Regions from separate parts of the Homo sapiens genome. Here region 2 is linked to region 1. Evidence: promoter capture Hi-C in human tissues and cell types (Jung and others, 2019). All regions are on one chromosome and are shown on one strand. The core of a region is centred on a gene start or on the middle of the fragment in contact, and the rest is flanking DNA. Distances in the headings are between cores, read along the strand shown.

What was found. Contacts are between HindIII fragments. The study calls those that stand out against the background at their distance.
Region 2: a contact is called between a fragment that was not itself captured here and the fragment with the promoter of LCOR in region 1, in 1 of the 25 tissues and cell types used here (H1 embryonic stem cells).

The regions. Positions count from the first base shown.
Region 1 is chr10:96,830,849-96,834,062 of GRCh38, reverse strand. It overlaps LCOR (ligand dependent nuclear receptor corepressor), which reads right to left and starts at 1,765. Exons shown (of 8, transcript NM_001346516.2): 1 at 1,664-1,765; 2 at 584-657. It overlaps LOC102723665 (a long non-coding RNA gene), which reads left to right and starts at 1,605. Exons shown (of 1, transcript NR_135921.1): 1 at 1,605-3,214. RefSeq lists enhancers at 1-525, 526-1,241, 1,242-1,956 and silencers at 703-942, 983-1,042, 1,083-1,802, 1,813-1,862, 1,883-2,182. The HindIII fragment of the contact is 19,511 bases long and covers 1-3,214 here.
Region 2 is chr10:96,485,660-96,488,873 of GRCh38, reverse strand. All of the region lies in intron 1 of TLL2 (tolloid like 2), which reads left to right. Among named protein-coding and RNA genes, the nearest start is that of TLL2, 27 kb to the left of the region's middle. RefSeq lists an enhancer at 1,539-2,038. The HindIII fragment of the contact is 6,246 bases long and covers 1-3,214 here.

The DNA.
Region 1 (3,214 bases), core at 516-3,015:
TGCTTTTTAATCTATTATCGAAAACATCCCTTGTGGGACATTGTAAAGGGCAGACCCTCCTGTCAAGCCAGAAGGCTCAAACACAAAGACACTGAGCTAACCAAGTGCTGTAATTCTTCCAAACTGAGCCTCTCCACACCCCCTCCACCCTTCCCCCCAACAGATATGTCTATTAAATCAGTGTCTGTTCTCCCCCTCGCACAACAAAGAGAACTTCTCACCGCATGAAATTGCCGCTGAATGGACACCAGAAAGCAGGATTTGCATAATTCCTTCCAACGAAACCCTGTCGGGAAGGAGGGAATGAGGGGCCCAAGCGAACGGATAGACTCTCCTAGATTCTGCCGGGAAAGACCTGGTTCCCAAGAATATTCCCCTGGGGGAGAAGGGGCTGGAATTCTGGGCCTCCCCGAGGACTGGGCGTGGGGGACAGCGGACGACGAGAGGGCATCTCCCCACACACCAGCAGCACCGAAGCAAAGACGGGGAAGTAACAATGCTGGAGGACAGGAGAGTCAGACACAAGGATGGACTGGGGCTAGGGGGCGGCGGGCGGAGCGGAGACACCACACGGGCCACTTACTTTTTGGAGGGGGGTTAAATATATGAGTTAAGCCCTTATGGTCCCGCCGGCCGCCGCACAGAGGGAAACGGGACCTTGGGAGAGAAAAACAGACAAAACACACAGTGTGAGAGGCGCAGCTCGGCCGCCCGGCCCCTCCCGGGGCGCCCCCGTCCGCGCTCCCTCCGGCCCGCAGGGAAAAAGCCACCCGAGGGCGGCCCAAGGTCCGGGAGGCGGGGGGCGGACGGGGCATTCGGGCGAGGCTGCGGCTCCGGCCAATCCCCGGGAGGGGACGAGAGCGACCCCCGCCGGGGCTCCTCGGTCGGACCCGGTCCCACCCCCTCCTCCCGCAGCACGACACCGAACACAAATACGCACACACCGACCCGTGCGTCGAGGATTAACTCCCCGGCCACCGCCGCCCGCTGAGGAAGTGCAGCCGCTGCCCCCCGCGGCCATGACACCCCACTTGGCTCGGTCAGGCGCACCCGGGGACTGTGACAGCTCCAGCTCCCTCCGCCCCCATCTCCACCTCACGCTTCGCACACGCCCGAGCGCCGGGCGCCCGCCTGCAGCCCGCCGCGCGTGCACGCAGACCCGGGGGCGCGCCCCGCGCGTGGGGGAGGGGTGGCGCAGGAGGAGGACGGCGGCGGCCACAGCGCGGGTGGGGGCCGAGCACGCCCGCGCCCCTCGCGCCTCCCCCAGTACAGCGGCAGCGCCGCGAGGCGAGTCGCCACAATAAGCCGGCGGCGGCGCCGGGGCGCCGGGCCTGGAGCGGGAGCAGGGGCGGGAGCGGGGAGGGAGGGGAGCGAGCAGGCGGGGATGGAGAGCGGGAGGGGGAGGAACCCGCGCTCCCGCCGAGAGCCAGCCCCGGGGAGGCGCGCGGAGGGGAGGGGCCGGCGCGCGCTCGGCCGAGCAGGGGAGCCCGCCTGGAGGTCGCGCGCGCTCACACTCCGGGGGGTGGGGGAAGGGGGGACGCTCGAGCCAAAGAGGGCGGGCGGGCCGGAGCAGCAATTGCCACTTCCCCAGCTTCCTCCCTGGTCTGGGGCGACCGGCGGCGGGGCGGCCGGAGGGGCGGCGGCGGTCGGCGGAGGGTCTCACCTACACAGTGAATGAGCTTGTGGCGCCACGAATCCAGTTCTTGCCGAAAGCCGCGTCTCTCAACGGAGCATTGCTGCCGCCTACACACCCTCGCCATCTTCTGCCGCCCGCCCGGCCCAGCCTCCGCCGCGGCCCCGCGCACGCCCAGCCGCGTCGCCCGGGGCCGCGCACGCACCCGCGGCCCGGGCGTCGCGCCTCCTGCCGGGGGCGGTGCGGGGGCAGGGCCGGCCTCACCTCACCGTGGCCCCGGCGTGGCCCGGGGGCGGCCTGGGCCCGCTCACCCGCCCCGCGCGCCGCCCGCCGGGCTGCGATCCCGCCGTCCTTCTACGCGGCTGCCGCCGCCTCTGGCCGCCCGGGACGGCGCCTTCCCACAGCCGGAAGTCAGTCCCGCTGGCCCCGCGCCGCCTTCGCACTGTCCCCCAAGGCCACGGCTGCCCCCGCCCTCCCCGGGGCTTTTTGTTTTTTACGCCAGCCCCATTTATCACTTCCAACCTGCCTATCGCCCGGCACCAACTGTTGCAAGTTCCGTAATAACTGCTGCTATGAACTTCTCCGTCGAAACTGCTCCTCCCCAGAGCCTGTTTAAGAAGCAGAAATAAGAATAAATTCCCGGATGCCGGTGGATGCACTGACCTCTAAGATTTTCAAAGGTGAAGTGGATACACGTTATTAAGTCATTGGGAGACATCGCCAACATTGGGAAACCTAGTAAAAAGTGGAAATCGAGCGTTTTAAATAAAAAAAAAAAAAGGTTTCTACTAGCAAGACTGATCGTAGGCGAACTTCTCAAGGAATTTTGGAATATTGTGCCAAAGTGAGAATATTTAATATTTCCAAAAGTAGACTTAACTAGGAATACTTAAAGCAGAGACTATTGGAAATGCTTTAATTTGGGATTTCAGGAAAGGGCTTGAAGAGAAATATTTTATATGAGCAAGCCTCTTGGAATAATTGAATCACCTTAATTTTGTCACTGTTACTTCGAAGAGAACGAGAAGAGAGAAGATGGGAAACGAAAGGAGAAAGGGAAAAGAAATGGGGTGGAAAGAAAAAAGCAGAAGAGATCGCCCTATACCAGTAGGCCTAGTACCCTAGGATTCTGGCCTCTTTCTCCCACCTTTGGTGTTTAAGATTAAGGACAGTGCATTCCTGCTTTTAGAAATTTAAATTTAAGTTTGAAGACTTAATTTTAATTACTGTAGTAGGTAAAGCAAAGTCGTTAAATACTTGACATCAGGATCCCATTGGAGTATTGATTTAGGTCTTTTCAAAGGTGGTGGTCCTGGTTCTCTGCACCAGCCACTGGCGGAATGGCGGAATGGTGTATCTACCAATGAACAGATGGACTGGGTGGGCCTCGGGTACGGGTGGCTTGAGATGCAAATGCAAGGGTAGGAAGGCACCTTCCCCCCCACCACTCCCAGCCCACCCCGCCAATCTTAAAACATTGATCTTTATAAAATTCGCAAACGTCCCACAGGATTTCATTGGCTTAAGAGTATTGTCAAATGAAGACGCCAGGAAGTATTGAGTTTCTGGGTACATAATACT
Region 2 (3,214 bases), core at 184-2,683, 340 kb after region 1:
TTCCTTCCACGCAGGGGTTTCCATCCTTGGCTCCCAGATACATGTGGGCCCTGCTGGTTCAGACACCATTGTTATGAGTGGTCCTGGACTTGAGTCTTCACTCTGCCAAATGACTCACTATGTGACCTTGAATGAATCACTCAGACCCCCTGCAGAACATGCTGCTGTCTATGGAAGGCGGTGGTGGCTTGGAGACTCCAGCTGACATTCTGGACCTGTGTTCTGGGGTGCAGCCACTCTTGCTTGAAGGCTGTATCTGTGAGCCTAAGGGGCAGCGCTGACTCATGCTATGGGCTGTGTCCCCTCTGAGTGAAGGGCACGTGGCCTTCTTGGACTGTCTTTGATCCACAGGAACTGTCCATGGGATCCTGGGGCAAGATCTGTAGAACACAAGGGAAGAGTCTGCAGGACCGCAGTGTGGGAGCCCGGGCTGGCGTGGGAAGGGGCTCTCTGGGCCTTGAGGTGGGCTAGGATCCAGTCCCACACCATGGGGGCTTCCCGCAGGTGCTGCGGAAGGGCCAGGCCATGCCCTCTTGCAGCTGTTGTCGGTAAGGGCTGCCCTGGGCTGGGCACGCAAGCGCTAAGTCAGTGCCTCCCAAAGGGATCAAACCTGTAAAAACGTCTCTTAGCTCACTACACATCACACTGATGTGGGCCATGGCCGGTGACCTCAGTGCCTGCAGGGTGCAGCTCCTCCATCTCATATTTGCTGAGTGGGGCCTGGTGCCAGTTCTGTGCTGAGCATGGATCCGCATTATCTCAGCTGATGCTCGCAACAACCCCATGTGGAAGATATTATGACTCTTTATTCACACTTGGAAGATGAAGAAACTGAGGCTTAGAGAGGTAAAGTTATTTGTCCAAGGCTTCCCAGGCAGGACGTGAGCTGGGGGCTATCTGATTCGGTTCCTTCACCGTCAGCCACTGGGCCCATACTGCACCGTGTGATGACTTTCCTTGGCGAGTATAAAATGGGATTTCACAAGTGAAATGTACATGGGAGCCTGTTGTCATGGCGTTTAGACTCTGGCACAATCTGGGAAGTTGAGTAGATGCTAAGAGCTTAGGAAGCCGCTGCGGGACTGGGAAGAACCCTGGCTTGGGGGTTCTGGCTCTGCTGCTTGCTGGCCCTGTGACCCCAGGCGAGTCATTCTCTTTTCTGAGTCTCAGGTTCTTAATCGGTAAAAGTGGAACGAGACCAATATGCGTTGATGCAAAAACTAAAAGAAGCGATGCCTGTGTACAATCCAGTGTTAACTGTAAAGCATTACAGAGAACATGATCTCCTCTCCCTCCCCCAACTCCACCTACTTCAACCCCCACCCCTACCCCTGCCAATGCCTGGCGTGTGCTGCCTCAGTAAGTGTTAGATGAGTATAGCAGCATGATTTAGCCCCCGCTGTCTGGTTAATATTGTCTGGTTGAGACCATTTGTCCTAAAGGAATACAGAGAAAGGAAAGAGTGTGTCGGGGTGGGAGGGCAAATAGTGGTGATGGAAGCTGAGTTGAGTTTTGCAGGGTGGGGTCTTCTGGATGAGGACAGGTGGGGGAGGGAGAGAGACAGGAACCAGGAGGAGCAAAGTGGAGGTTGGAGAGGTACCACTCTTCACTGCATGCTTGCCACAGGCCAGGCCTGGCACTGGCTGCTTAACAGACCTCATGTTGTTTAATTCTCACACACTTCTACCAGGTAGGCACCTCTATTTCCAGATGAGGAAACCATGGCTCAGAGAGACCAAGTGAGTTACCCGAGGTCACACAGCTCTTCAGTGATGGCACTGGGATTGGAACCCAGGTCTTTCTGGCTTAAAAGTACATGCTTTTAATGAGCCTGCCTCCCCAGGTGAACAATACGAAGACTGCAGGCAGAAAGTGCCTTCGTAAAGGATTTCCCTGCAAGGGAATCAGCCTGGGGCTCCCACCCTTTGGTGTCAGGAGGACGCCTGAGCACTGGACATGAGGAGATGGAGACGAAGCCAGCTGAGCAGGCCCAGGGGACAGTGTGGGAGGAGTTTCCCAGCAGCCCTGTGACTTTGGGAAGGGGCTGCTGCAGAGCGGCCCCCGCTGCTCTGCCCTGCTTGGCCCCTCTGCCATGCTCCGCCTTCAAACTGTGGTGTGCAGGGGCATTGGACTTCCCAGGGGTGCTCTCTACAGATGGTTCAAGGGAGTGAACTTCCAGGTTCTGAAGCATGCATCTGGGATTCTATACTAAGACAGCAGGAGGATGCTGGGCACGTGGCCCTTCCTGCACTTCATGGGAGAGAGGCTTACCTGTCACCCATCTGGAATCCCACTGTGTACAAAACCCCCGAGTGTCAAAGGAAAAATGAGAAATGGTTGGTTATAGAGCAGCCTTCTTCGATGAGGAGCCAGAGTGTCTTAGACCTGCAGCTCTTCTGTCTCTTCTCATCTATAGGAATTTCTATTAAGGGAAATGCTTGGGGCAGGGAGGAATATTTTGATTTCAGAACAACTGAAGTAGGGTAGTTAATGATAGTGATTCTCTTAAGTATAACTAGAATGCTCCCTGGACCTCTAAATTTTTCAAACTATATGGATAAAACCCAGGATGAACATTTTTCTTGTTTTCTTTTGGTTTCAGCATGCTATTCCAAAAGGTAGTTAAACCTATTTTACCAAACCATATCATGAAACATTTATTCCACGTATAGTCAATCCTCGTCTTATAAAATACTTATTATTTTCTTTTCATGAGCAAAATAAGTATTTAAACTTATCGTGAAAAATCTGAAGTGTCAGGCTAACAAAGGGATATGTAGCTTTTCAAAATGATTCAGGAACATGTGAGCACAGAAGTTGGAAGACCACTATGTAACTTCCTTGGCTTGGGTGGTTTTCCCAGTGCCCGTTCATCTGTTCCCTTCTCCCACCCCCTGCTTCTCTCTTTCTTCTCTTAGAATGTTTGAGAAGTATTCCTGATTGCCTGCCATTGCCATTGCCATAATTGACATCGGACACTTTTTCTTTGGGGGAAAAATGGCGCTGCACCGTGGACTGTCTTGTGCCAAATCTTCAGGGAAGTGGGAAACCGAAGGGCTCAGCGCAGGCAGCCGGAAACCATCTTTGACCAAACCAACCTTGTCACACATTTCAAGGGAGTTCTAGATGACAGTCAGATTTCAAGGAATTGTCAGATAGACTTCCTTGTACAAAGTTTGGGTCCCCAAGAAAAGCTTTAAATTGAGAGACAGTT